4 separate regions of the Homo sapiens genome follow, and all the other regions are linked to region 2. The links are contacts of gene promoters, found by promoter capture Hi-C in blood cells and fetal thymus (Javierre and others, 2016). All regions are on one chromosome and are shown on one strand. Each heading gives the region's core, a stretch centred on a gene start or on the middle of the fragment in contact. The rest is flanking DNA. Distances are from core to core; before and after follow the strand shown.

Evidence for each region. Contacts are between HindIII fragments. The CHiCAGO score rates a contact against its expected background, and 5 or more counts as called.
Region 1: a contact is called between a fragment that was not itself captured here and the fragment with the promoter of CHD4 in region 2, in 1 of 17 cell types (activated CD4 T cells). The highest score is 6.7, in activated CD4 T cells.
Region 3: the fragment with the promoter of GPR162 here is called in contact with the fragment with the promoter of CHD4 in region 2 in 13 of 17 cell types (activated CD4 T cells, naive CD4 T cells, total CD4 T cells and 10 more); the score reaches 13.1 in activated CD4 T cells.
Region 4: a fragment that was not itself captured here is called in contact with the fragment with the promoter of CHD4 in region 2 in 8 of 17 cell types (naive CD4 T cells, total CD8 T cells, total CD4 T cells and 5 more); the score reaches 10.4 in naive CD4 T cells.

Annotation. Positions count from the first base shown.
Region 1 is chr12:6,389,677-6,397,008 of GRCh38, forward strand. It overlaps LTBR (lymphotoxin beta receptor), which reads left to right. Exons shown (of 10, transcript NM_002342.3): 9 at 436-664; 10 at 984-1,890. The coding sequence ends at 1,261. Among named protein-coding and RNA genes, the nearest start is that of LTBR, 9.2 kb to the left of the region's middle. RefSeq lists an enhancer at 985-1,797. The HindIII fragment of the contact is 2,950 bases long and covers 1,655-4,604 here.
Region 2 is chr12:6,602,663-6,610,280 of GRCh38, forward strand. It overlaps CHD4 (chromodomain helicase DNA binding protein 4), which reads right to left and starts at 4,717. Exons shown (of 40, transcript NM_001273.5): 1 at 4,638-4,717; 2 at 3,612-3,789. The coding sequence starts at 3,711. It overlaps LOC124902867 (a long non-coding RNA gene), which reads left to right and starts at 3,224. Exons shown (of 2, transcript XR_007063193.1): 1 at 3,224-3,333; 2 at 6,453-6,648. RefSeq lists enhancers at 3,288-3,447, 5,188-5,337 and silencers at 3,798-3,847, 4,028-4,087, 4,498-4,597. The HindIII fragment of the contact is 30,599 bases long and covers 1-7,618 here.
Region 3 is chr12:6,819,614-6,826,298 of GRCh38, forward strand. GPR162 (G protein-coupled receptor 162) reads left to right here and starts at 2,208. Exons shown (of 5, transcript NM_019858.2): 1 at 2,208-2,287; 2 at 3,855-5,152; 3 at 5,871-6,060; 4 at 6,583-6,685. The coding sequence starts at 4,286. CD4 (CD4 molecule) reads left to right here. Exons shown (of 10, transcript NM_000616.5): 10 at 1-1,186. RefSeq lists enhancers at 1-248, 1,219-2,191. The HindIII fragment of the contact is 21,739 bases long and covers 1-6,685 here.
Region 4 is chr12:6,735,984-6,742,782 of GRCh38, forward strand. No RefSeq gene overlaps it. Among named protein-coding and RNA genes, the nearest start is that of MLF2, 14 kb to the right of the region's middle. The HindIII fragment of the contact is 1,764 bases long and covers 3,556-5,319 here.

The DNA of each region.
Region 1 (7,332 bases), core at 1,880-4,379, 210 kb before region 2:
CTGTAATCCCAGCTACTCAGGAGGCTGAGGCAGGAGAATTGCTTGAACCGTGGAGGCGGAAGTTGCAGTTGAACTGAGATTATGCCACTGCACTCCAGCCTGGGTGACAGAGTGAGACTCTGTCTCAAAAAAAAAAAAAAAAAAAAGTTAGCCAGACAGTCCCAGCTACTCAGGAGGCTGAGGCTAGAGGATCACTTGAGTCCAAGAGTTCATGAGCCTGCAGTGAGCTATGATTGCACCACTGCACTGTAGCCTGGGTGACAGACCCTGACCCTGTCTGGAAAGAAAGAAAGAGAGAGAGAGAAAGAGAGAGAGAGAGAGAAAGGAAGGAAGGAAAGAAAGAAAGAGAAAGAGAGAAAGAAGAGGGAGGGAGGGAGAGAGAAAAAAGGGTCTGGGGCCCTCATCATTGTTTGGGTCTCCATCTCTTTCCTGCAGGGAGAGGGACCCAATCCTGTAGCTGGAAGCTGGGAGCCTCCGAAGGCCCATCCATACTTCCCTGACTTGGTACAGCCACTGCTACCCATTTCTGGAGATGTTTCCCCAGTATCCACTGGGCTCCCCGCAGCCCCAGTTTTGGAGGCAGGGGTGCCGCAACAGCAGAGTCCTCTGGACCTGACCAGGGAGCCGCAGTTGGAACCCGGGGAGCAGAGCCAGGTGGCCCACGGTGAGCCTGGGGCAGGGAGAAGAGAGGAAGGATGGGGAGGGAGGGATGGCTGGCAGGGAGAGACTGTGGGCCAGATGAAATAAAAAGACCAAAACAGAGGCAGACAGAGACTCCGCTGCCAGTCAGTGTCACAACTAGAGAAGAGGGAAGAGACTGGAAAACCCAGAAGCAGAGAAATGAACACAGAAGCTCAATAAACCAGCAGCAAGCAGGAGAGGGGCGGGGCCAGGGGAAAGGCGAGAAGAAGGCAAGAATTCAAGAAGCAGCGGGCCTGAACTGGGGGCCTTCCTTCCTCAACACTCTGCCTCCCTTCCTACAGGTACCAATGGCATTCATGTCACCGGCGGGTCTATGACTATCACTGGCAACATCTACATCTACAATGGACCAGTACTGGGGGGACCACCGGGTCCTGGAGACCTCCCAGCTACCCCCGAACCTCCATACCCCATTCCCGAAGAGGGGGACCCTGGCCCTCCCGGGCTCTCTACACCCCACCAGGAAGATGGCAAGGCTTGGCACCTAGCGGAGACAGAGCACTGTGGTGCCACACCCTCTAACAGGGGCCCAAGGAACCAATTTATCACCCATGACTGACTGAGTCTGAGAAAAGGCAGAAGAAGGGGGGCACAAGGGCACCTTCTCCCTTGAGGCTGCCCTGCCCACGTGGGATTCACAGGGGCCTGAGTAGGGCCCGGGGAAGCAGAGCCCTAAGGGATTAAGGCTCAGACACCTCTGAGAGCAGGTGGGCACTGGCTGGGTACGGTGCCCTCCACAGGACTCTCCCTACTGCCTGAGCAAACCTGAGGCCTCCCGGCAGACCCACCCACCCCCTGGGGCTGCTCAGCCTCAGGCACGGACAGGGCACATGATACCAACTGCTGCCCACTACGGCACGCCGCACCGGAGCACGGCACCGAGGGAGCCGCCACACGGTCACCTGCAAGGACGTCACGGGCCCCTCTAAAGGATTCGTGGTGCTCATCCCCAAGCTTCAGAGACCCTTTGGGGTTCCACACTTCACGTGGACTGAGGTAGACCCTGCATGAAGATGAAATTATAGGGAGGACGCTCCTTCCCTCCCCTCCTAGAGGAGAGGAAAGGGAGTCATTAACAACTAGGGGGTTGGGTAGGATTCCTAGGTATGGGGAAGAGTTTTGGAAGGGGAGGAAAATGGCAAGTGTATTTATATTGTAACCACATGCAAATAAAAAGAATGGGACCTAGATAATTTATTTTCTTGGGATTTATACAGAAACACTATTCCATGGAGACAATCTCAAAGACAAAGGTCAAGACACTAAAATATAATCCCATAAAGATATTTCAGTGAGGAGCTGGTGAGTATAGTCCAGGTAATAACAGTCTCGTCAGTGATGGCTGACAACGTGCCAGGCAGTGTTCTCAATGCTTTACAGTACTAACTTACTTAATCTTCACAATAACTCCCTAAGGTAGATATGATTCCCATTTAACAAATGAGGAAACTGAGGCACAGAGCGGTAACTTTCCCAATTCAGCTGCAAATGACAAAGCTGGGATTTGCACCTAGTTCGTCTGGCTTTTAGAGGCCTCTTGGGGAAAAAAAAGCCTTCATATACCACGCCCTTCCAGAATTTCTTTGAACGGGTAGAATGGTCTGGCCTTCTCAAATAATCAGATCTCTTGCATGTTCCGCAGGTGTTACTTTTCAGTCAACTCTCAAACATCTAGCCACACGCGAAGTGAAAAATGTTCTCCAAGGTTGATTGAAGGGAAATGTGTGCAATTTTTTTTTTTTTTTTTGAGACAGGATCTAATTCTGTCACTCAGGCTGTTGTGCAGTGGCACTATTATGGCTCATGGCAACCTTGAACTCCTGGCTCAAGGGATCCGCCCACCTCAGCCTCCCAAGTAGCTGGGGCTATAGGTGTGTGCCACGACGCCCAGCTAATTTTTTGTATTTTTAGTAGAGATCAGGTCTCCCTGTGTTGCCCAGGCTGGTCTCGAACTCCTGGGCTCAAGCAATCCTCCTGCCTTGGCCTCTGAACATGCAGTGATTACAGGCGTGAGAGCCACCGTGCCTGACCTGAGGTGTGCACTTTAGACATAAAATGAGAGAGGCCAAGTTCACATTTTGTTGGTGAACAGAAATCTAGGCTGGCCTCCTTTTGGTTCAGAAAGAGTATTTATGATTTTTACTTTTTTGGTTTCTTTTTGTCTTCTTTTATTTTTACCCCCAAAAAGGACTTTAAATCTTCTCAAGCCCTCTTATTAGTAAATGTTTGCCCCTCCCTGCCCCTGAATTCTCTCCTGTGCTCGGTCGAGAGGATCTTAGCTTGCAGGATTGTTAGGGAGCTGCTGCCAGCCGGCTGCTCCTTCCATAAAAGGCCACTCTCATGGGTCTGATATGAGGAACTCTGTCGCTGGAGCTCATCAGGGTGGGGCGGCTGCAAAACACACACCTCAGAAGGCGTCTGATCCAATGGAGTGGATGGGTCATTTAAGGTTGACTGTGAAAATATCACATCCAACTTCCTTTTTTGAAAAGTAAATAATGGTGAGCTGTATCTTTAAATAAAGTTAAATCCTCCTGCCCCTGCAATATGCTGGGGCCAGACCTCATGAATTCTTAATAATTGTTCTAATGTGTTTAGATAAAAAACAAATTTTATACATTTTTTTCAACAAAATAAAAGGAGGAAAATATTTTGAAAGAAATGATGCTGAAGCACAGCCCTTTGTGACACCATTCAAATTTATAATTATACCTGCCTGTATTTTTTTAGAGACAGGGTCTTACTGTGTCGCCCTGGCTTGAGTGCAGTGGTATAATCGTGGCTCATATAGCCTCAGCTCCTAGACTCAAATGATCTTCCTACCTCAGCCTCCCACGTAGCTAGAGCTACAGATGCGTGCCACCACACCTGGCTAATTTTTTTTTAATTTCTTTTTTAAGAAGTGGGGTCTTGCTATGTTGTCCAGGCTGGTCTCAAACTCCTGGGATCAAGTGATCCTCCCACCTCAGCCTCCCAAAGAGCTGAGATTGCAGGCATGAGCCACTGCACCTGGGCTGCCTAAATTAATTTTCTAGGGCCGCCATAACAAAGTACTGCAGACTCGATAGCTTAAGCTGCAGAGATTTATCTTCTCACAGCTCTGGAGGCTGGAAGTCAGAGGTCAACGTGTTGGCAAGGTTGGTGTCCTCTGAGGCCTCTGTCCTTGGCCTGCTAATGGTGGCCTTCCTGCCACCTATGTCTTCACATGGTCTTGCCTTTGTGCATGAGTGTGTCCTAATCTTCTCTTAGTGGATTAGGGCCCATCCTGATGACCTCATTTTAACTTAGTCACCTCTTTAAAGCCCCTGTCTCCAAATAAGGCCCCATTCTGAGGTCCTGGGAGTTAGGGCTTCAGCACGTGGATTTTGGAGGGAGACACAGTTCCACCCACAGCATTACCCATGTCTATTTTGCCAGTGTGGAGTCAGTACAGGCTCCAGGACACATCCACAGAGCACAGGCCACGTAGAGGGGAGCTCCTGTCTACAAGGAAAAGCTGGCAGAAAACCAACAAAGACAGCCTCTTGATGGTGGTCTTCAAAAGATGCAACAGGATGCAATGGCAGTTGACAATGGGGTAACTGTTGGTTGTGAGAACCCTAATCCTCTACCACAGGGAGGAGAAAGCTAACACCAAGTCCAACCCACATCAACACGGGGGTGGGACACCCGTTAGGGGGCCAAGGCTGTAGTCCAGAAGAAAGGTGGATGGAACTGGGGACAGAGCAGTAGCACAGGGAGATGGGGGAGGATGGGGTAATTCAGAATTTCCCTTTTTGAGAGTGGCATCAACACAATGTCAAAGTAGGAGTTCTCCGGCTTCTCTCCTCCCCAACAGAATTTCAACTAGCAACAATCCTGTGGCAAGTTTACCACCCTGAATATCCCAGAACTTGGAGTGAAGCTTTGCATCCCCTGGGATGGCAGAGCCAAGAAAAACCATGAGGACGGTAAGGGGATGGCTGCTTTCTGACCACGCCACTCCTCCCCAAGCCCGCACAGTGCCACACGCAGAGGAGTCCCTGGATGCTCGGTTTCTCCAGTGGACACAGTGGATGGGAGGTGGGCGTTCGGCTTCCCCACCAGTCTGAGACTTCACAGGAGACTCACTCTAGTCTTTTCCCGCAGGAAGCACTGTGAGTACCGGCAGGGTCAGCCCAACAAGGGTCAGTAAGAACTTCCCTTTTCAAAAGATAAAGCGGTTCACATAGACAGCTGTGGTGGACTCTTTCTGCTGCCTGTCCAACAGACTTCTGCACATTTCCTAAGGACAGAACCGCATTTTTGTACTAGAGCAGAGATTCCGTGACATCAGGAGAAGAGGCCCTTCCCCCAATCCCAGGAGCCAATAAACTCATTCTTCTTTGCAATTGTACAATGACATGCACAGGGAAGTCTTCCTTTCCAGGGTATAAAGCACCATTAGGAGAAAGTTTTTGGTTTGCCTTGGCCCTTATTTTTTGTTTTGGGGATTTTGCGTGTGACAACATCACTCCTGAGCTGTGGCAGCCATCTTACCATCATGAGGAAACCGCCACGGGGATAAAAAGCCAGTCCTCTGAGGACCTGGAAGAAAGGACAGAACCTGGCTCCCAAGGCATCACTGAGACCCAAATCAACAGTAAGTAAGCACAGCACCTACTCCTGGGCTTCTTTTTATGAGAGAAAAAAAAAGTTCCCATTTGTGTAAATCATAGTGTTTGGTGTTCCTTTTCTTTTTTAGTTTTAATTGTATTTATTTCCTCTCTTTCGGATGGTTGATTTATTCACATGGGTCAAAATTCAAAAAGTATCAAAGAGTAAACAGTGAAATGTCTCTCTTTCACTCCTATCCCCCAACCACCAAGGTCCCTGCTCTGGAAGCAACCAATGTTACTGTTTCTGATGCTTTTCCAGAGGTAATTTATGCATATTCAAACAAATATATATAAATAGATTCCTTTGCTTTTTTATTTCTACAGATGGTACTACAGTAGTCCCCCCTTGTTTGTTATTTTTTTTTCTTGTTTGTGATTTTGCTTTCCATGGTTTCAGTTATCTGCTGTCAACTGTGGTCCAAAAATATTAAATGGAAAATTCCGGAAAGAAACAATTCATCTGTTTTAAATTGTGCACTGTTCTGAACAGCATGATGAAACCTCAAGCTGTCCTACTGAGACAGAGTAGGGATGGGACTCGGGCCCCACTCGTGCCCTACCAAGAACCTCTATTGTAAGCTGGGGTGGGGGTGTGTGGCCAGTGAGGACCCCAACCAGACTGTCCAGACCTTGCACCATGAATCTTGCTCAAGGTACTATACCCACTCATCGCAGACCCTTAGAGAGACTAAGATGAACAACGTCCCACCATAAATCTTACTCCAGGTGCCAAACCCACTAGTTGTAGAAATTAAAATAAGCAGCTCCCACCTTGAATCTTACTCAAAGGAGTTAACCCTATCTCCCGTATGTATACCACAGGACCAGAAGAATGAGCGCTCCTTTGCCTTATCTTCATTATAATACTAAAAATCACACCGGGGTGGAGACTTAACATGCTAATGAGACACACGATGCATAAAGAAGCATGTTATCAAACTGAACAGGTGCCAAAATTTCCTCATCTCTACCTGCTCAAACTCACTCCCTTCCCACTTTAGTTCCTTTAATTCTCCTTTAGTTCCTTTAGTTCTCTTGAGTCTCTTCCAGGAGCCAGCCAGAGAATTCTCTCTCTCGTGCTGCCTCCCTTATGCCCTGCATAAGCTCTAATAAAGCCTTGTCTGGGAAAACTCTTTTGGCCTCATGTTAACTTCTATTGCATTAACAACCCCCAAGGCCCTGTGGTTGGTAACACTACTCCTGTCCCTTCAAGACATGAATTCTCCCTTTGTCCAGCATCTCCTCCCTGCAGACGCTCCCTACCCCTTAGTCACTTACAAGCCTTCCCAGTGATCAGACCAACTGTTGAGATATTGCATGCTTGTGTTCAAGTCACCCTTATTTTACTTCATAATGGCCTCAAAGTGCAAGAGTGGTGATACTGGTCATTCAGATATGCCAAAGAGAAGCCATAATATGCTTCCTTTGATGACTTTGCTAAGATCTGCATAACAATGCACCTTCTATTCATGAAGTTGTGAAGCAGAAAAAAAGAAATTCAAACTAGTTTTGCTGTCACACCTTAAACTGCAAAAGTCATGGTGCATGATAAGTGCTTAGTTAAGTTGGAAAAGGCATCAAATTTCTGGGTGGAAGACATGAACAGAAACGTGTTTTGACTGACAGCAATCGGGTTCAGTGCTATCCACGGTTTCAGGCATCCACTGGGGGCCTTGGAATGTATCCCCCTTGGAGGAGGGTGGACTACTGTACACGATGTTCTGTAAGTTCTTCCCCTTGCCTTTTTCATTTATTAAAAGAGCTTGGCCATAATACCATATTAGTACCAAAAAAAGTTCTCATTCATTTTTCTATCTGTGTGGTATTCTATCACCTGGCTGTACCATTTAACTGGATCCCTTTTGAGAATTTTTAATTCATCTCCAACCTTTACTATTACAGACAACACTACAGTAATAACCTATGTCATTTTGCACATGTGGAAGTACTGCTACAAAAAAAATTGCTGGAAATAAAATTTCCTGGTTAAAAG
Region 2 (7,618 bases), core at 3,467-5,966:
AGACAAAGAGAGAGCTGTATATACCCGAAATAGGCCTGCCAGGCCAGACCAGGCCCACCTCGGGCAGCTGTCCAGACCCCTGCCTCCTCTCTCCCGTTCCTACCAGTCCTCTAGATGTTCACCAGTACAGCTGAACTGAGCTGCTCAGAGTTCACCAAGTAAGAGAACTAGATTTAGGCCTCCTGTAACTGGCCACCAAGTTATTCTATAAACCAGGGAATGAGAATGAAAGATCCTACTCAGAAGGCAAAAACTATAGAATATACCTTCCCAGAACAGGATCAGTTCAGGGGTCTCGGAAACCACACCCTTCTCTAACCACTTTGAAGTCATCACTGCTCAAATTAACCAGAACCTCCAAGTCCTAGGTTCAGGTGCCAGCTCAATCTCATGCCCACTTCTAAAATACAATTTCCTTTCCCCATCTCCAACCCTAATGTTCCTCCTCAGCTTCTCCTGGGTCAGCAGCCTCTTCTCCCTAGGGGCCCGAATCAGCCCAGCTGTCACCATCTCCCCTACACCCGCCCCCCAGCAAGCCTCCTCCCATCTGGCTCCACCTCCTCCCCTGGCTGGAGGCACACACAAAGCCTGGGTAAGACTGAAAGCTCCTGGGCAAGGATAGGTGGGAAGGGACACAGAGAAGACCAGGAGGCAGCTTCCTTTGTAACAGACATTCACACTGGCTCCGACTCCCTCCTCCCTCCTCTCTCCCTCTTCCCAAGCCACCCCCGCCCAAAGGGGGGTGGGTAGAGAAAGGAGTGGAGAGAAGAAGGGAGTGCCTCACCCACTGAGGAGAGGGAAAATGGCTCCTGACCGCAGAAGCCAGCCCAGGGCACCCAGCTGCCAACATAGGACAGACAGGAAGTGGCAGGGGAGGGGGTGGGTTTGAGAGAGGTGGGGTGGCGGGGGGGGAGACTGCCCTCATAGAAGCCTCCCCAAATTACCTGGCCCCAGGTCCAAATGCCACCTACTCTGGGATGACAACAGTTCACAAGAGCCCACCCTAACATCCTAAGCAAGGAAACCCAAGGAAAGCGAGACAAACATGAAGGTAATACTAAGAGAAGAACTCGATCACTCCCTCAATCATAATTATTTTTTCAATCATCAGAGCTGAGATTTAACAAAGGCTCAGTGGACTTGTGGTCAGCGCATACAACCTTCTCCCCAAATTTCTGATACCCAAAAGATTTAGTTTGAGGAATGGAGGCCCACAAGAAGTCTCTGAAGCTCAGCTTCCTCACCACTCCCACCCAGATTCCTATCCAACATATGGGAATGTCTGCACAAAAAAACAGAGCAGGACCTAGACAGTGGTAGAAGAGAATATCCCAATCGGGTGCAATGGCTCATGCCTGTAATCGCAGCACTCTGGGAGGCTGAGGCGGGCAGATCATTTGAGGTCAGTTCGAAACCAGCTTGGCCAACATGGTGAAACCCTGTCTCTACTAAAAAAACAAAAATTAGCCAGGCATGGTGGTGGGTGCCTGTAATCCCAGCTACTCAGGAGGCTGAGGCAGGAGAATCGCTTGAGCCCGGGAGGCGGAGGTTGCAGTGAGCCAAGATCGCACACTGCACTCCAACCTTGGCGACAGAGTGAGACCCCATCTCAAAAATAAAAAAGAAAATAATATCCCTCCTTCAATCCCTGACATGTTCTTAGCTCTTAACCCCCAAAATTAGCCCTAAAATGTCTCTGGCTCCCCACTTCCTGAGCTAGACAGATACTAGGGAATGAGACATTAGGCTGGACAAAGCACCATCAGCCTCCCTGCTTCTCAGCCCAGAATAAGACCAGGCACAAGAACGCCCCTCCCATTCCCCCTTGGGAATGCAACATCAGCCTGGATTTCACCAGAAAGAATCATTTTCTTAAGGACTTTTCCCCACCAATCCCCAAGTCAACCCCCAACCCCCATCAGCTACATCTCACCACCCCCATAAAAGCTGGAAGTGGAGACAAAGACAACCCATGGAGGCAAAGGGGACATCCTTCCATGCACATGGAGCCCCCCAAACTTCTCAGGCAAATAATATGCTGAAATGGCAAACCGCAAACTTACTGAGATATAGAGAAGATTTAGGAAAGGGACAGGAATGGGGTGTGGCAAGTGGAAAAAGTGGGTCATGCTACAGCTCAGGACAGAGTTCACAGCTCCTGCGCAGCTCCCGGTCAACATGAAAGGCAGCCCCAGCCCAAGTGGCCAATGGGAGGCCAAGACGTGGAACCCAGAATGTTTAGGCAGCACTACTGTTTCTCATGCCCCTCTCAGAAGGACAGGGTCCCCTTACCAGCACCACAACTCCGCCCTCACCTTGGGCAAGGGCATGGAAATCTGCCCCCTACTCTACACAAGGATGAAACCAAGTTTCTCATCCCAACAGCCCAGACTCCATGACAACACTAACCCCTCTCCTAAATGGCCTCAGGTTGAAGTGAAGAATTCCAACTTAAAAAGTGCCAAATGTGAAAGCATCTCTCCCAGACCACCTCAACTTCCACTGAAGCTAAGAAGAGAGAAGGCAGAAGTGAATGATGCTGGATGAGAAACAAAAACAGGATCAGCAGGCTCCAGAATGAGAAGAAAACTAGAAGCAGAAGGAATGAAGAAATGACATGTAGAAAAAAAAATTAAACTAGAAAACATGAAGGTCAAGGAGATGAGTAGGTGACACAGCTAGGGGCTCTGAAAAAGGACACAGAAGAGAAAGACATCTGCTTAGGGGCATGACATCAACCATCATTTGAGGATAGACAACAGTTCCCCCAATCAGACAGGGTGGTTACAACCATACGGGTTTGGCCAGTTCATGAAGCCACCCCAAAACACAGATAGCGTAACCCCTAGCACACCTACACAGACACTTCACACTGCCAGCCTAAACCGCAGGCTACCTCATAGAGACAGAAGCCACTAGGAAAAAAGCCAAAACTATGTCCACTCACCAGGAGGAGGAGTGCCCTCCCTTCTTTTGCCCCTCTTCACTAGGCTATTACATCCTCCCCGAGCCCCCATCACTTCCCCACTCAAAACATTCCAGCAATCTGCCTGGCTGCTTTAAGCACTCCAGATCCTGCTGAGGAGCGCGATTCAAACTTCACACAGTTCAGACAGCACAGAAAACCGGTAACCGATCAGAAGCTAAAAATAATCAGATAGAGTGTAACCAGCACTCCCTCTTTCCTTTCCACAGCAGCAACCACAGGATCCTACTAGCACAGATGCCCGGCTGGTCTTTCAAACAGAATCCTCAACGCCCCCCTCCACCACCACCACCACAAGCCTCCAGGGGTCCCAGCTACCTGCATTCCTCCGAGGACCCACATACCAGGTAATGCCTGCCAGCCCAGAGAGCTCCCTCAACTGGGAACTGCAGAGCATTCCTCAAGACAGAGTGCAGCAAGCTGGCATCTCCGTGCCCAGGAGGCACATGGCTTCCACCCCCCTCACACCAGAGCTCCGCAGAAGGGAACCACTCCCTTCGGATACCCTCCACCTCCGGCTCTGCACAGAGACAGCGGAGCAACACAGCCCTGCCTCACCAGAGGAGTCACTCGGGAGAGCCCCAGATGTCTCCTTCCCGCCATGGGCCCTTGGGGAAGATGTTACCTGGGTGGGGTGGGGGCAGGCTGTTGTTCAAAAGTGCATCCATATCCTCCTCCTCACTGCCCGCCGAGCAGGGGGACGGGGAGCCCAGGCCCGACGCCATCCCCTTCCGCTCCCGGCCAGGGAATTGGCCCAGCTGCTCCTGCCGGCGGCCTGAGGACCTCTACACTGGCCCGAGTCACTGTGCGGGGGAGGGGGGAGAAACACAGAACAGTCAGTGACGCGCACTGTCCCCCTCCCCCACACCCACCCGCTCTTTCCGCCCCCCACCCCAGCCACCCTAGCAGGGCACCCGAACCGCTCAGGCTGAACTTAGTTCCACACTCCTCGGGGGCAGCCCGGAAGCCGGCTCCCCGGCAGGCGCCCCCACGGAGCGAGGGAGCGACGCCTCCGAGGGCAGGCTGGTGCAAGCGCGGGGAGGGGAGACGCGGGGCTGGACCGAGCGGGGTGTGACGGGGGAGGGGGTCCGAGTGGCAGCGGCGCGGGGGGGCCAGGGGAGGCCGCAGGCGGCGAGGCGCTCGGGGACACAAGGTCACTTGGGGGTGGGGGGGCGCCTCCCTGCGCCCGGGGAGGGGCCAGTCCCCAGACAGGGCAGCTCTCCAAAGGCTGTCCTCTGGGACAACTCAGGTTCTCCTCAAGAGCTGCGGGGACGAGGGGGCGTGGAGGCTCGGGCGCTGCGGGGGGCCGGAGGCAGGGACGCGGGGGGCGAAAGCGTCCCACCGGGAAGGGGGCCGGGCCACGTGTCCCGGGGGGCAAGTGATCAAAGGGCGAGGGGGTGGGCGCCGGGCATTGTGGGAGACCAAGCCGGAGGCGGGGGGTCGCGGGGAGCAAGACTCCGGCAGGGTTAGGGCGGGGGCTGGGGAGGAGGCCGGGCGCCCTGCAGGGCCAGGAAAGGAAGGGTCGGCTCCTCTGGGCAAGGGGCGGTCCGCGGGTCCGGAGACGCCTGAGGAAGGGGCGGGTGACGGGATGACCCTCGGGGCTGGTAGGGCCGTGAGGGGCGTCTCTTTGGGAACCCCGCGCTCTCCTCACCCCGGAGCCGCCGCAGGTCGCGCTGGGTCCGGCTCGGTGTCACTCCCGCTCCGGCTCCTCCTCGCCGCGGCCGAAGGGGGGAAAATGGCTCCGGCTCCAGCGTCGCCTCTTAAAGGGCCTGAAACACCGGCCGGGAAATCCCACCGCACAGGCCCCGCCCCCCCACGGACAGCCCATAATAACCTCAACCAACTCCAACCCCCCCCTTCCACTACCGCCACCCTCCTCCCCAGGTCTCCCGGGCAACCCCCGCCCCCTCGTCGCTCAGGCAACCACTGGCCACGCCCCCTTCGCAGCGGGCGCGCGCGCGTCACCTGGGCAACCGCCCACCTCCTGGCCATCCCATAATACACACGGACACCCCCCCCCCCAACACACACACACACACACACACACACACACACACACACACACACAACACACACACACCCTGCCCCCCCACATTTCATACACATATGCCAGAGACTGCTGACATCTCAAAATATTGCAGACCTTTTGCAACTAACCCTCTTAGACATCCCATAATAGACATCCTTTGCCAACTTCTTCTTCACTCTTGGACCTAATGCTAACATCCCATAATAATTCATCACCCCTCCCTCCCCATGGCCATCCCATAATAAGCACCCCTCGCAGCACTTATGCCTCATATCCCATAATATTCAGCCCCATCCCCCACAGACATCCCATAATAACCATCCTTCATCCACCCCCAGTTTGATATCCCATAATAGTCAGAAACTCACCCCCCCCCATACTACAACAACGGACACTCGGCCTCCTCCCACACACATCCCGTAATAATCAGTCTCCCACTTTCTATACTGACATCCCATAATAACTAACCCCCTAGAGCTGCCCTCAGTCCCTGCAGGCCAGGGTCTAGAGGCTCACATCACCCCCAGCCTTCCCTCTTCTAGCTCCACAGCCTATAGTAAGTACCCCTCCTCTATCAAAAAGATAACCCATAATGATCAACAGCCCTACTGTCGCCCCACAGATGGACATCTAATCTCTTTTCCTCTAACACTGGAAAGCTATCCCATAATAATTTTACTCTCCTACCCACATCCTGACATCCCATAATAATTGCAAGGAGCCCGTGGTCAACCAAACATACCATAATACTCCCAACACAACCCAGTGTCACATCCCATAATGCTTCATCTCCACTCTACCACCCCTATACCCTTCGAGCCAGGCATCCCATAATATTCATATTCTTCCCACCCCCATCTCCAGGCGCTGTCAGTCTATTCTAACACCCAGAGCAGGGAGGGCCAGGCAGGCTACCCACGCTTCCTTGTCCCCGCCCCCACTTGCACACACCTTAATCCCTTTCTGGGCCAAAGTAGTATCCTGGCAAAAAGCCTCCTGATGTCTGGGACCCCAGCTTCCCTCATACCATCATTTCCAGACACTCGGGGGCTGGGAGCCCACCTAGGGCCCCACCCAGTCCCACCAAAATCTAGGTATTTTCCAGATGCTTACCTCCAGCTCCTAAGTTTTGAGGAACACCAACCAACCAAAATACCAAGCTGACAGATGAAACATTTACATGAAGTCTAATTCACCCTACAGCATCCCATAATAATTACCAACTCCCATCCAAAGACTATCTCTCAACATTCTAGCAATCCTCCCCCTCACCACATCCCCAGGTCAGGGATCTTTCACCAACACCCCCAGGCCATTCCTGGGGATGGACATCCCATCACGATGTGAACTCAGGTTCCTGCTCTATACACACCAAGAGTGAAGGCCTGCCCTCCCGCTACTCACCACTACTCATGTTCATTCAACCTGTGTTGACAGAGTACCTAGCAAGGCCGAGCTCCGCACCATGGAGAATCAAGGAAGACCAGGGGGCCTCCCTTCAAAAAGCATAAGCAACCAAGCAAACTATGATACACGACAGAATGGTGCCAAGGGAGAACTGCTGAGCACTGTTTCCCAATTTCCTGTTACAGAAAATAAAATCCCACTGGTTCCAAGAGAGAACATATCCCAATAAGATTTATCGTGGTCCTTCTAGAGGCTGGAAGATGATACTTAAAGGATTTATGGGTATAGACCATAGTCAACATGATCTCCTATCTGTTCCCTACTTACTAGGGGATTTTTCTTGGAAAGCAATGTTCATCCATCCAGCATTCCTAATACTGAAATCCTATAATATGTTCATGTCCTTCCTTCTTAAGAGACTCCACAATATACCAGCATTGTTTCCCTCATTCTTGAACACCAAATCCTGCTTATCCTCAATGTCCCATATTTTTCAGGCACTTTCCCATTTTATATCCTGAAGTCTCATAGTATCTCCAATGGCCTCCATCCTCATCTTGTTGGGGCCACATTCTCCACCTCAAAAAAAAAAAAATCTTTAGTTGTATAATGTTCCCCATCTTCCCCTGCCTGTATAGAAGTCAATATTCCAGCGGGGCATGGTGGCTCATGCCTGTAATCCCAGCACTTTGGGAGGCCAAGGCAGGTGGATCACAAGGTCAGGAGTTCAAGACCAGCCTGGCCAAAATGGTGAAACCCCGTCTCTACTAAACATACAAAAATTAGCCTGACATGGTGGCACGTGCCTGTAATCCTAGCTACTCAAGGGCTGAGGCAGGAGAATTGCTTGAACCCAGGAGGTAGAGGTTGCAGGGAGCTGAGATTGCACCACTGCACTACAGCCTGGGCAACAGAGCAAGACTCTGCCTCAGAAAAAAAAAAAAAAAAAAAGAAGTCAGCAGTCCAGGAAACCTTCTACATTGAATTATGCCCCAAGGTAGCCCTCCAGCGTATACCATCTCCTTCCCTTATTATGCATACCCTCCAGCCACCCTATGGACCCAATCCTAGAAGCTGAAATAACCGAATTTTTTTTGTTTTGTTTTTTGTTTTTTTGAGAGACAGGGTCTCAGTGGCGCAATCACAGCTCACTGCAACCTCAACCTCCTGGGCTCAAGTGATCATCCCACCTCAGC
Region 3 (6,685 bases), core at 958-3,457, 210 kb after region 2:
TGGATCCCAGGGGAGTGTTCAGGGCCAGCCCTGGCTGGCATGGAGGGTGAGGCTGGGTGTCTGGAAGCATGGAGCATGGGACTGTTCTTTTACAAGACAGGACCCTGGGACCACAGAGGGCAGGAACTTGCACAAAATCACACAGCCAAGCCAGTCAAGGATGGATGCAGATCCAGAGGTTTCTGGCAGCCAGTACCTCCTGCCCCATGCTGCCCGCTTCTCACCCTATGTGGGTGGGACCACAGACTCACATCCTGACCTTGCACAAACAGCCCCTCTGGACACAGCCCCATGTACACGGCCTCAAGGGATGTCTCACATCCTCTGTCTATTTGAGACTTAGAAAAATCCTACAAGGCTGGCAGTGACAGAACTAAGATGATCATCTCCAGTTTATAGACCAGAACCAGAGCTCAGAGAGGCTAGATGATTGATTACCAAGTGCCGGACTAGCAAGTGCTGGAGTCGGGACTAACCCAGGTCCCTTGTCCCAAGTTCCACTGCTGCCTCTTGAATGCAGGGACAAATGCCACACGGCTCTCACCAGTGGCTAGTGGTGGGTACTCAATGTGTACTTTTGGGTTCACAGAAGCACAGCACCCATGGGAAGGGTCCATCTCAGAGAATTTACGAGCAGGGATGAAGGCCTCCCTGTCTAAAATCCCTCCTTCATCCCCCGCTGGTGGCAGAATCTGTTACCAGAGGACAAAGCCTTTGGCTCTTCTAATCAGAGCGCAAGCTGGGAGCACAGGCACTGCAGGAGAGAATGCCCAGTGACCAGTCACTGACCCTGTGCAGAACCTCCTGGAAGCGAGCTTTGCTGGGAGAGGGGGTAGCTAGCCTGAGAGGGAACCCTCTAAGGGACCTCAAAGGTGATTGTGCCAGGCTCTGCGCCTGCCCCACACCCTCCCTTACCCTCCTCCAGACCATTCAGGACACAGGGAAATCAGGGTTACAAATCTTCTTGATCCACTTCTCTCAGGATCCCCTCTCTTCCTACCCTTCCTCACCACTTCCCTCAGTCCCAACTCCTTTTCCCTATTTCCTTCTCCTCCTGTCTTTAAAGCCTGCCTCTTCCAGGAAGACCCCCCTATTGCTGCTGGGGCTCCCCATTTGCTTACTTTGCATTTGTGCCCACTCTCCACCCCTGCTCCCCTGAGCTGAAATAAAAATACAATAAACTTACTATAAAGATGCTCTTCGTGTGTGTGTGTGTGTGTGTGTGTGTGTGTGTGTGTGTGTGAGAGAGAGAGAGAGAGAGAGACCCCTTCTCTGGGGACCAGGAATCTTCTGGTCTTTGGGGTCGGACCCAGAGGAGAGGTTGCTGGGCGTGCCCCAGGAAGGAGATGAAGTTTCCCTGGAGAGGGAAAAATTCTGTGGAGGCTGGCTACCCACCTCCACAACCCACAGGGCTCTGTGTGGGCCTGTGTGTGTGTGAGGCTGAGACTCTGTAATTACATGTGTGTGATATACCGTGGGGGAGAGACTCAGGGTTGTGTGAGCTCTCCTGGTGTATGTGTGTGGCAGAGAAAAAGGACTATGAGAAACTGTAACATGTGTGTGCAAATTGTATCCCCAACATATGTGTTTGTGTTCCAGGAGGAGGAGGCAGAGTGTGTGTGTCTGTGTGCATGCATGCGCCCACATCCTTTTAGCTTGTGCACAACCACCCCCAACTCCACAAGCAGCCCCAGTGTGCACCACAAGCCCCCTCACTCCCAAACCCAAGGCCCAGCCCTCACACAGATACACACAGTGACACACGCTTCCTCCTCCCCGAACAGCTAGCTCCTCAGTCCCCAACAACACCAGCTGCCTCTTGGAGCTTGTGTTCGTGTTGAAAACGGGAAGGGGTGGGGGCAGGACATGAACCATTTCACCAATGAAGCCGGTTCCCAGCCATCCTCCTCACCGCCCTCCCTCTCAGCGCCTTCCTTGCCCCTCCTCCCCGAGTCACCACCGTCCAGTTCCCCACCCTGCACTCGTTTCCCGCCCCCCCCCGCCCCCCACAAAGCTGTCCTGCCTTCCCTCTGGCCTGGGCTCACTGGCAGGACGACCCCGGGAGAGAGGGTCCTGGAGAGTGAGAGGGGCAGAGACCGAGTGAGCCGTGGGCTGAGCCTGGGAGGCCGGGACTGAGGGGGAGGAGGGAGGCCCGGGGGAAGGGAGGGAGGGAGAGAGGGAAGGAGGGAGGAGGGCGGGCGAGCTGGAGCCGGCAGGCAGCGGGAGCCCGAGAGAGCCGCGTCGGGAGTGCGGTCTCCATGGCAGTGCTGGGCGCAGCCGGAGAGAGGTAAGACGACCCCTGCCTGCCCCGTCCCCTGTGTTGCCTCCCTTTCCCCCTCAAGCTGCCTCCTCTCCCCTAGGCCGGCCCCTCCTCCCCAGCCACCTGCTGTTTCTGCCCTGGAGAACCTGGAGGGGGACAGGAGGGAGGAGCCGCCTGACCTTACCCCTTCACCCCAAAGGGCGAGGGACCCCGTCGGCCAGGGAACCTCCCAGATCCCCCTTCCCACCTTCCTCTGATCTCTCCCTGTCCTTCACCTCCCTCTCTCTGTCCTTCACATCTTTCCTGCCTCCTTCCCTCTCTGACTCCCTATCTCTTTCATCCTGAGCCCACCAGCTGGGCCTGGGTGGAGGTGGGTGGGAAGGGGTCCAGGGCTGTAGGAGAGGACACTGGGGGCTGCTCTTGGCCAAGTCCCTCCACCTCCCTCTGGCTGGCCATTGCCATGGCAACTAGGGTGTACTGGGCTCCGGAGGGAAGCCAAGGGTGGGGGTGGACCAGGACCTCTTGGGGAAAGCAAGGGTCTGAGCTGCTTCCATGGGAAACAGACCCTTTCACTGCTGTGCCCCATTTTTACCCCACTTACCCTAAAGCCATTATGTGCTTCCTTACAGCCCCACTCTGTTCAGGGTTTCACCCGATTCCCTTACCCCCCTTCCCAGGGCTCACTGAAGCTCAGCATCACGCACTAAAACTGGGACCATCCTTCCTCCCATGAGAGGGAAACTGAGGCTCTGGGCCAGGGAGGAAGAGTCAAGGTCTCCCCACGGGGAGTCAGCACCTTATTGAACATTTGGCTTTTCTTCTCAGCCTCCTATTCCCTGCTCCCTCCCTCCCTCCCTCCTCCAGTCCCTCCTCCCTCCAAAGCCTCCTCTCCAGGGGGTTTGAGCTTTTCCTGCTATTTTCAGATACTACCACTTTGCCCCCTCTTTCTCTTCTGCTCAAACTCTCCTCCTTCTCCCTAGTTCCCCCTCTTTCCATTTCTGGATGCTTCTGATGTCAGCGGTTTCCCCGCCTTCAGGTTCCCTAGCACCCCCTTCGGTCCCAGACTCCTTTCTCCCATTTTCCCAGATATGGGTAGCTGGAGGGTGATCACCCAGGTTTGGGGAAGTAGGGGCTAAGCACCAAGACCCCTGCATCCAGGAGACCGGCAGGTAGGGGAGGAAGGCTGTGATGCCATATCCCAGTTCACTGTGAACCCTCAAGAGGAAACCAGTCTTGTGTCTCCCATCAGTAGTTCTGAAGAGACATTTAGGGACTTGAAGATAGGGGTGGAGTAGTGCTGAGCAGGGGATGTTCTAAGAAGGAACCTGGGAGTTCCAGCGGGAGGAGGAAGGGCTAAAGGAGACAGGGAGGTGGGAATACCTTCTTCCCTAGAGGTCTGGAAGAGTGCGGCTCTCATCTGTGTGGGGTGTTTAGCTGTCAGAGTTAAGGCAAAGGAATGTTCTGAATGACCCTCAGGGCCTTAGTAATCAGTCATGCCTATAGTTTCAAGAAAGGGGGCACAGGAGGCTGATTGGAGACCAGCCCAGGCCCTACCTTTGCCCTCTCCCTCCCACATCTCATCTTTCCCTTGCAGCCTGTCCAGGGGGCTGAGCCCCACCCCCAAATCCCTGGGGCATCCAGAAGATTCCTGACTGGTCAAGAACCAGAGGCAAAAGAGACCTGGAAGTCCCAGCATGGGGACCAGAACCCCCCAGCCAGCCTCATAGTTGGGAAAGTAGCCAGCTTGCCTGCCCCATCAATTGCAGGGATGCTTAAGGAAGGCCCCGCCCAGTATGAAAGCTGAGGATTGCCTCTGCTGACCCTCAGTCTCCTCCCCTGCCCTCTACATCTGCCCTCAGCTGGGTCCATCATGCAATGCTGAGCACTGGGGTGAGCCTGGGGGCAGCCTGCCTGCTGACAGGGCGAGGATTGTGGGGATCATGGGAGTGTTTGTGAGTGGGGCTCCTGGGTGAGACCTAGCCCCCACCCCCACAGAGCTCAAGGGGGTGGGGGGCTGAGGATAGGATGGCTCGGGGCGGGGCGGGGGCAGAGGAGGCCTCCCTGCGCTCCAACGCATTGTCCTGGCTGGCCTGTGGGCTCCTGGCGCTGCTGGCCAATGCCTGGATCATCCTCAGCATCTCGGCCAAGCAGCAGAAGCACAAGCCACTGGAGCTGCTGCTCTGCTTCCTAGCGGGCACACACATACTCATGGCAGCTGTGCCCCTCACCACCTTTGCCGTGGTGCAGCTGCGTCGTCAGGCTTCCTCCGACTATGACTGGAACGAGAGTATCTGCAAGGTCTTCGTGTCCACCTACTACACCCTGGCGCTGGCCACCTGCTTCACGGTCGCCTCCCTCTCCTACCATCGCATGTGGATGGTGCGCTGGCCCGTCAACTACCGCCTCAGCAACGCCAAGAAGCAGGCACTGCATGCCGTCATGGGCATCTGGATGGTCAGCTTCATCCTCTCCACACTGCCCTCCATTGGCTGGCACAACAACGGCGAGCGCTACTATGCCCGCGGCTGCCAGTTCATAGTCTCCAAGATCGGCCTCGGCTTTGGCGTTTGCTTCAGCCTCTTGCTACTTGGGGGAATTGTCATGGGTCTGGTCTGTGTGGCCATCACCTTCTACCAGACACTGTGGGCCCGGCCCCGGAGGGCTCGGCAGGCCCGGAGAGTGGGGGGTGGTGGGGGGACCAAAGCGGGTGGGCCAGGGGCCTTGGGTACCCGGCCAGCTTTTGAGGTACCAGCCATTGTGGTGGAGGATGCCCGAGGGAAGCGGCGGTCCTCGCTGGATGGCTCGGAGTCTGCCAAGACATCCCTGCAGGTCACCAACTTGGTCAGCGCCATCGTCTTTCTCTATGACTCACTCACAGGGGTGCCCATCTTGGTGAGATCGGGGTCCTCCCCACCTGTTCTCCCCAATATCCAGGCCCCAGCATCATCACCTGACCTCCAACTTCATCAGCCATACAGCAGCTCCGTCATCTCTCCTCCAGTTCCATCATCCATCTTCCTCTCCTCTGTCCATCCCCCACTCCATTTGTGGCCCCCATCTTGATCATCTGTCTTTTAGTTCCCACTACCCTGTTTACCCCAGCTCCAGCATCTGCTTCAGTTCCCACTCCTCAGCTCCATCACCGTCCTTCAGTTCCACGACCTGTCCTCCAGCTCCGTCATCCATCCTGCAGCTCCACGGTTCAGCCGCAGACCTCTCATCCAGCCGCTGGGCTCCACTCTCCATTCCCTCCTTCCCTCGGGCTGCCACATGGTCTCTGAGCACTCTTGGCTGGAAATCCCACAGGGCTCACCCCACCACCCCATCTAGTCACTGTTCCTGGGTTCCTGTCTGTCTCTACGGTTCCTGGTCCACCTCTGTTCCTCTCCCTCCTGACCGCAGGGCTTTGTCTCCAGCACTCTCCCCGACCTTCCTCTGAGTCAGTCCCTTCCCTCTGTTCACTCCATCTCCACCTCCGGCTTCGCCTCTGTTGGAGCACAGGGATCAGGCATTACTTCTGACGTCTTGCCCACCAGCTGCACTAGGATATGGGGTTCAGGTGGGCTCCTCAGCTCTGGCCCTGACCCAGCCCGCTCCCACCCTTCCCCAGGTGGTGAGCTTCTTCTCCCTCAAGTCGGACTCGGCGCCCCCCTGGATGGTGCTGGCTGTGCTGTGGTGCTCCATGGCACAGACGCTGCTGCTGCCCTCCTTCATCTGGTCCTGCGAGCGCTACCGCGCCGACGTGCGCACAGTGTGGGAGCAATGCGTGGCCATCATGTCTGAGGAGGATGGAGATGACGGTCAGAGGAGGGGCTGGGCTTTGGCTTTCCTGGACATCTGTCTATTCCCTTTTCTGCCGCTCCTTCTCAGCCAGAGGATGGGCTGCCCTGGAGTGCCCCCTACTGGACAGAATCTGCACCACCCTGGGCTCCCCTTTCCCTAAGCAGGCACCCTGCTGTCCACTCACTGCTTCCCGCAGCACTCAGGGCTCCCTTCACTGGGCCTAGGCTCCCCTCCAGAAACCCACACTGCCCAGCTCTGGCACTATGGGGAACCTGAGCTTCCCGAGAGAGGCCCCCCAGCTATAGGGACGGCTCTTGGGGGAGTGCAGGCAATTGTTTCAATAACTTCATCTATATGTATGAAGCACTCCACTCAGGATTTAGCACTGAACGCAGCAAATGCTAGCCACTCTCACTGTCCTCTTGGAACATACATGCTAATGGGAACTAAAGGGGTCTCTGGGAGCTTATAAAGGCAGTGGTGGGAGGCCGCGGTAGGCATTCCCTACCTGTAACCACTCTGCCCATTTTCTCTCCTAGATGGGGGCTGTGACGACTATGCAGAGGGCCGAGTTTGCAAAGTTCGCTTTGATGCTAACGGAGCCACAGGACCAGGGAGCCGGGACCCCGCCCAGGTGAAGCT
Region 4 (6,799 bases), core at 3,188-5,687, 130 kb after region 2:
CCTGCTAAAACAAATTACCATTCAACATGTTCAACATGCTCCTTAAGATTTTAACAAGACCCAGAGCCTCAAACCATAATATTCAAAATATCCAGAGTATGATTTAAGGTGACTCAGCATACAAATAACTCTCCAGGGAAAAGACAGCCAACCCCAAGGAGGCAGAAGTGTTGGAATTTAAAGCAAATGCTGCAAGCAGTCTAACCATGCAGGAAGAAGAAAGGGAGAATGCTTTTGAAACAAATGTAAAGAAAGTCTTAGCAAAGAAATGGAAGATATAAAGAACCAAACAGAAAATAGCAATAACTAGGCCGGATGTGGTGGCTCACGCCTGTAATTCCAGCACTTTGGGAAGCTGAGCTGGACCATTCACCTGAGGTCAGGAGTTCGAGACTAGCCTGGCCAACATGGTGAAACCCCACCTTTACTAAAAATACAAAAATTAGCCAGGCGTGGTGGCAGGCACCTGTAATCTCAGCTACTTGGGAGGCTGAGGCAGGAGAATCGCTTCAACCTGGGAGGTGGAGGTTACAGTGAGCTGAGATTGTGCCATTGCACTCCCCCAGCCTGGGTGACAACAGCGAGACTCTGTCTCAAAAACAAAAACAAAAACAAAAACTTCCCAAACCTGGCAAAAGACAAAGACAGATTCAAAAAGTTTGGTGGATAGCAAACAAGATATACTCAAATCCATGTCCATAGCCAGCGTGGTGGCACATGCCTGTAGTCCGAGCTACTTGGAAGACTGAGGCAGGAGAATCACTTGAACCTGGGAGGTGGAAGTTGCAGTGAACCGAGATCAAGCCAACTGCACTCCAGCCTGAGTGATAGAGCTAGACTCTGTCTCAAAAAAAAAAAAAAAAATCCATATCTGGACACATCAGAATAAAATTGCCGAAGGTTAAAGACAAAGAAAAAAGTCCCACAAGCATTCAGAAAAACAGTGCTTTTCACACAGGATAAAAATGACTCAAATGACTGCACATTTTTCGTCAGAAACTATGAAAGTCAGGTGGAACTAGAATGATACTTTTAAGGGGCTTAAGGGAATTAACTCAAAATCCTATATCCAGTGAAAATATTGCTCAGGAATGAATGTGAAATAAAGATATTCTCAGGTGAAGGAAAATAAGAATTTGTCACCGGAAAACCCGCTGTAAAATCCTAAAGGAAGTTCTTTAGGCAGAAGAGAAATGACACCAAAGGAAACACGGAACATTAAGGATGAAGAGCAGCAGCAATGGTAAATATAATAGATTATTTTTCTCCTCTTAAGTTCTTTAAAATGTTTATGACAGCTGAAAGAAAATCATAAATTTGATGTTTGTCTCAAGAGGGAATTCTCTAAATATAATTTTAAAACAATTATAAATTCACCTAGAGCCATGCACCGCGGCTCACGCCTGTAATCCCAGCACTTTGGGAGGCTAAGGCGGGCGGAACACTTGAGGTCAGGAGTTGGAGACCAGCCTGGCCAACATGGTGAAACCCTGTCTCTACTAAAAACACAAAAATTAGCCGGGCGTGGTGGTGCATGCCTGTAATCCCAGCTACTTGGGAGGCTGAGGCAGGAGAACTGTTTGAACCTGGAGGTAGAGGTTGCAGTGAGCTGAGATCGCGCCATTGCACTCCAGCCTGGGCAAGAAGAGTGAAACTCCGTCTCAAGAAATAAATAAATTCACCTAGAAGGCTAGGTGTGGTGACTCACACCTATAATCTCAGCACTTTGGGAGGCTGAGATGGGCAGATCTCTTCAGCCTAGGAGTTCTAGACTAGCCTAGGCAACATGGTGAAACTTCGCCGCTATAAAAAATACAAAAAAAATTAGTGGGGCATGGTGGCCTGTGCCTGTAGTCCCAGCTACTTGGGAGGCTAAGGCAGGAGAATTGCTTGAGCCTGGGAGGTAGAGGTTGCAGTGAGCCAAGATTGTGCCATTGCATTCTAGTCTGGGCAACAGGAGTGAAACCCTGTCTCAAAAATTAAAAATCAATAGATAAATTCACCTAGAACTAAGCATTTTTAGCGTTTAGTATGTGGAGTTTCAGTATTTGTAGTATGTGGTGTTTGTCATTTATAGTAACACATATGAGAACTACGAGATGAGACAGTAAAGGGAGCTATGTTGTGGTAAAATTTCTACATTTAACTTGAAGTGGTAGAAAAAAACTCTGATTGTGAAAAGTATGTATTTTGTAATCCCCATAGTAAGGGTTAGTAAACCATATTCCACAGGCCAAATCCAGCCCACTGCCTGTTTTTGTAAATACAGTTTTGTTGGACTGTAGTTACACCTCATTCATTGCATATCATGTATGGTTGCTTTTGCACTACAGCATCAGATTTGGGTGTTGCAACACACATTGTATGGCTGACAAAGCTCATCATATTTATTGTATCTGGCCCTTTACAGAAAAAGTTTGCCGGCCCAGTGTAGTGACTCTTGCCTATAATCCCAGCACTTTGGGAGGCCGAGGCGGGTGGATCACGAGGTCAGGAGTTCAAGAACAGATTGGCCAAAATGGTGAAAGTCCGCCTCCACCAAAACTACAAAAATTAGCCAGGCGAGGTGGCAGGCGCCTGTAATCCCAGCTTTTCAGGAGGCCAAGGCAGGAGAATTGCCTGAACCCAGGTGGCAGAGGTTGCAGTGAGGCGAGATGTCACCAATGCCTGTCCTAGAGCGACCACTAAAGAAAAGAAAGCCAGGCGCGGTGGCTCATGCCTGTAATCCAAACACTTTGGGAAGCCAAGGTGGGCAGATCACGAGGTCAAGAGATCGAGATCATCCTGGCCAACAGGGTGAAACCCTGTCTCTACTAAAAATACAAAAATTAGGCCTGGCGCGGTGGCTCACGGCTGTAATCCCAGCACTTTGGGAGGCGGAGGCGGGCAGATCACGAGGTCAGGAGATCGAGACCATCCTGGCTAACACGGTGAAACCCCGTCTCTACTAAAAATACAAAAAAAAAAAAAAAAAAAAAAATTAGCCGGGCGTGGTGGCGGGCGCCTGTAGTCCCAGCTACTTGGGAGGCTGAGGCAGGAGAATGGCGTGAACGCGGCAGGCGGAGCTTGCAGTGAGCCAAGATCGCGCCACTGCACTCCAGCCTGGGCGACAGGAGCGAGACTCTGTCTCAAAAAAAAAAAAAAAAAAAAAATTCGCTGGGCATGGTGGTGGGCGCCTGTAGTCCCAGCTAATCGGCAGGCTGAGGCAGGAGAATCACTTGAGCCCGGGAGGCGGAGGTTGCAGTGAGCCTAAGTTTGCAGAGAGCCGAGATCGCGCCTCTGCACTCCAGCCTGGGCGACAGAGCAAGACTCCGTTTCAAAAACAAAAAACAAAACAAAAAGCCGGGCGCGGTGGTTCAAGCCTGTAATCCCAGCACTTTGGGAGGTCGAGGCGGGCGGATCACGAGGTCAGGAGATCAAGACCATCCTGGCTAACACGGTGAAAACGCGTCTCTACTAAAAATACAAAAAAATAGCCGGGCGTGGTGGCGGGCTCCTGTAGTTCCAGCTACTCGGGAGGCTGAGGCAGGAGAATGGCGTGAACTCAGGAGGCGAAGCTTCCAGAGAGCCGAGATCACACCACTGCACTCCAGCCTGGGCGACAGAGCGAGACTCCGACTCAAAAAATGAAGAAAAAGAAAAGAAAATGATACAGAGATTTACTGGGTGAAAAAAATCTGTACATAAATTAAAATGGAATACTAAATAACATTCAAGTAAACCAATACAAGGCTGGAAAATGGAGACAGAGAAATTACAAACAGAACAAACAAAATAAATAATAAATAATAGAAATATTGCCGGGCGCGGTGGCTCACACCTGTAATCTCAGCACTTTGGGAAGCCGAGGCAGGTGGATCACGAGATCGAGACCGTCCTGGCTAACATGGTGAAACCCCATCTCTACTAAAAATACAAAAAAATTAGCCGGGCGTGGTGGCGGGCACCTGTAGTCCCAGTCACTTGGGAGGCTGAGGCAGGAGAATGGCATGAACCCGGGAGGCGGAGCTTGCAGTGGGCCGAGACCGTGCCACTGCACTGAAGCCTGGGCAACAGAGTGAGACTCTGTCTCAAAAAAAAAAAAAGAAAGAAAGAAACAAAGAAAAAAAAAGAGATAAATGCAAACATACTAATTATATTAATTTTTTATTTTTATTTATTTATTTTTTTGAGATGGAGTCTCACTCTTGTCGCCCAGGCTGGAGCGCAGTGGCGCGATCTCAGCTTGCTACAACCTCTGCCTCCCAGGTTCAAGCTATTCTCCTGCCTCAGCCTCCCGAGTAGCTGGGATTACAGGCATATGCACCAAGCCCAGCTGATTTTTGTATTTTTAGTAGAGACAGGGTTTCACCATGTTGGCCAGGACAGTCTCGAACTCCTGACCTCAGGCAATCCTCCCGCCTTGGCCTCCCAAAGTGCTGGGATTACAGGTGTGAGTCACCACACCTGGGCAATTATATTAAATTTAAATGGCCTAACTACAATTAAAAGACGGATAGGCTGGTGGTATACATCTGTAGTTCCAGCTACTTGGGAGGCTGAGTTGGGAGGATTGCTTGAGCCTGAGAAGTTAAGGCTGCAGTGAGCTGTAACTGTGCCACTGCACTGCAGCCTGGGTAACAGAGTGAGACCCTGTCTCAAAAAAAAAAAAAAAAGAAAAAAAAAAAAGACTCACTTCTTAACTCCAGCACTTTGGGAGGCTGAGGCGTGAGGATCACTTGAGCCCATGATTTTGACACTAGCCTGTGCAACACAGTGAATAGAGACCCCATCTCTATTTTAAAAAAATATCAAAATAATTTTTTTCTTTTTTTTGAGACAGAGTCTCACTCTGTTGCCAGGCTGGAGTGCAGTAGTGCGATCTCGGCTCACTGCAACCTCCGCCTCCCCGGTTCGCGCCATTCTCCTGCCTCAGCCTCCCGAGTAGCTGGGACTACAGGCGCCCATCACCACGCCTTCCTAATTTTTTTTGTATTTTTAGTGGAGATGGGGTTTCACTGTGTTAACCAGGATGGTCTCGATCTCCTGACCTCGTGATCTGCCTACCCCGGCCTCACAAAATGCTGGGATTACAGGCGTAACCACCGCGCCCGGCCAAAATAATTTTTTTAAAAGACCCAGAAATACAGTGTCTTAAAAAAGAAAACAAATACTTTTAAGTATGACATAGGTCGGTTAAAAGTAAAAAGATGGAGAAACACGTACCATGAACACTAACCAAAAGAAAGTTGAAAATGGCTGTAGTAACAGTTAACTAAACTTCAGAGCAAAGAAAATTACCAGAGATAAAGAGGGACATTGGCTGGGCTTGGTGGCTTAAGCTTGTAATCCCAGCACTTTAGGAGGCCGAGGTGGGCAGATCACGAAGTCAGGAGTTCCAGACCAGCCTGGCCAACATGGTGTAACCCCCATCAATACTAAAAATACAAAAAAATTAGCCAGGCGTGTAATCCCAGCTACTTAGAAGGCTGAGGCAGGAGGATCACTTGAACCTGGGAGGCAGAGGTTGCAGTGAGCCGAGATCATGCCACTGCACTCCAGCCTGGGTGACAGAGCGAGACTCTGTCTCAAAAAAAACAAAACAAAACAAAAAAGACATTACATAATAAGATATTTGGTTTTCCAAGTAGATACAATAATTCTAAATGTCTATGCATTTAACTAAAGCGCTTTAAAATGCACAAAGCAGGCCGGCCACTGTGGCTCACGCCTGTAATCCCAGCACTTTGGGAGGCCCAGGTGGGCAGATCACTTGAAGTCAGGAGTTTGAGACCAGCCTGGCCAACATGGTGAAACCCCATCTCTACCGAAAATATAAAAAATTAGCCAGGCGTGGTGGCATGCGACTGTAATTGCAGTTACTCAGGAGGCTGAGGCAGGAGAATTACTTGAACCTGGGAGGTGGTCTAGCAGTAGCGAAAAGTGTCAAGGAACAACACCCGCTACTTAGCAGACCGGGAAAGTGAGTCTCCTTTTCCCCGGGGGAGTTTAGAGAAGACTCTGCTCCTCCACCTCTTGTGGAGGGCCTGACATTAGTCAGGCTGGCCCGCGGTTATCCGGAGGCCTAACCCTCTCCCTGTGATGCTGTGCTTCAGTGGTCACGCTCCTAGTCCGCCTTCATGTTCCATCCTGTACACCTGGCTCTGCCTTCTAGATAGCGGTAGTAAATTAGTGAAAGTACTAAAAGTCTCTGATATGCAGAAATAATGGCGTAAGCTGTCTTTCTCTCTGTCTCCTCTCTCTCTCTCTCTGCCTCAGCTGCCAGGCAGGGAAGGGCCCCCTGTCCAGTGGACACGTGACCCACGTGACCTTACCTATCATTGGAGATGACTCACATTCTTTACCCTGCCCCTTCTGCCTTGTATCCAATAAATAACAGCGCAGCCAGACATTCGGGGCCACTACCGGTCTCTGCGCATTGGTGGTAGTGGTCGCCCGGGCCCAGCTGCCTTTTCTTTTATCTCCTTGTCTTGTGTCTTTATTTCTATGCTCTCTCATCACCGCACACAGGGAGAGACCCACCGACCCTGTGGGGCTGGTCCCTACACACACCCAGCTAATTTTTTGTATTTTTAGTAGAGACAGGGTTTCACCATATTGGCCAGGCTGGTCTTGAACTGCTGACCTCAGGTGATCCACCTGCCTTAGCCTCCCAAAGTGCTGGGATTACAGGTGTGAGCCACCGCGCCCGGCTTTGTTTTTGTTTTTGTAGAGATGGGGTTTCACCATGTTGCTCAGGCTAGTCTCGAACTCCTGGGCTCAGGCAATCCTCCCTCCTCAGCTTCCCAAAGTGTTTAGG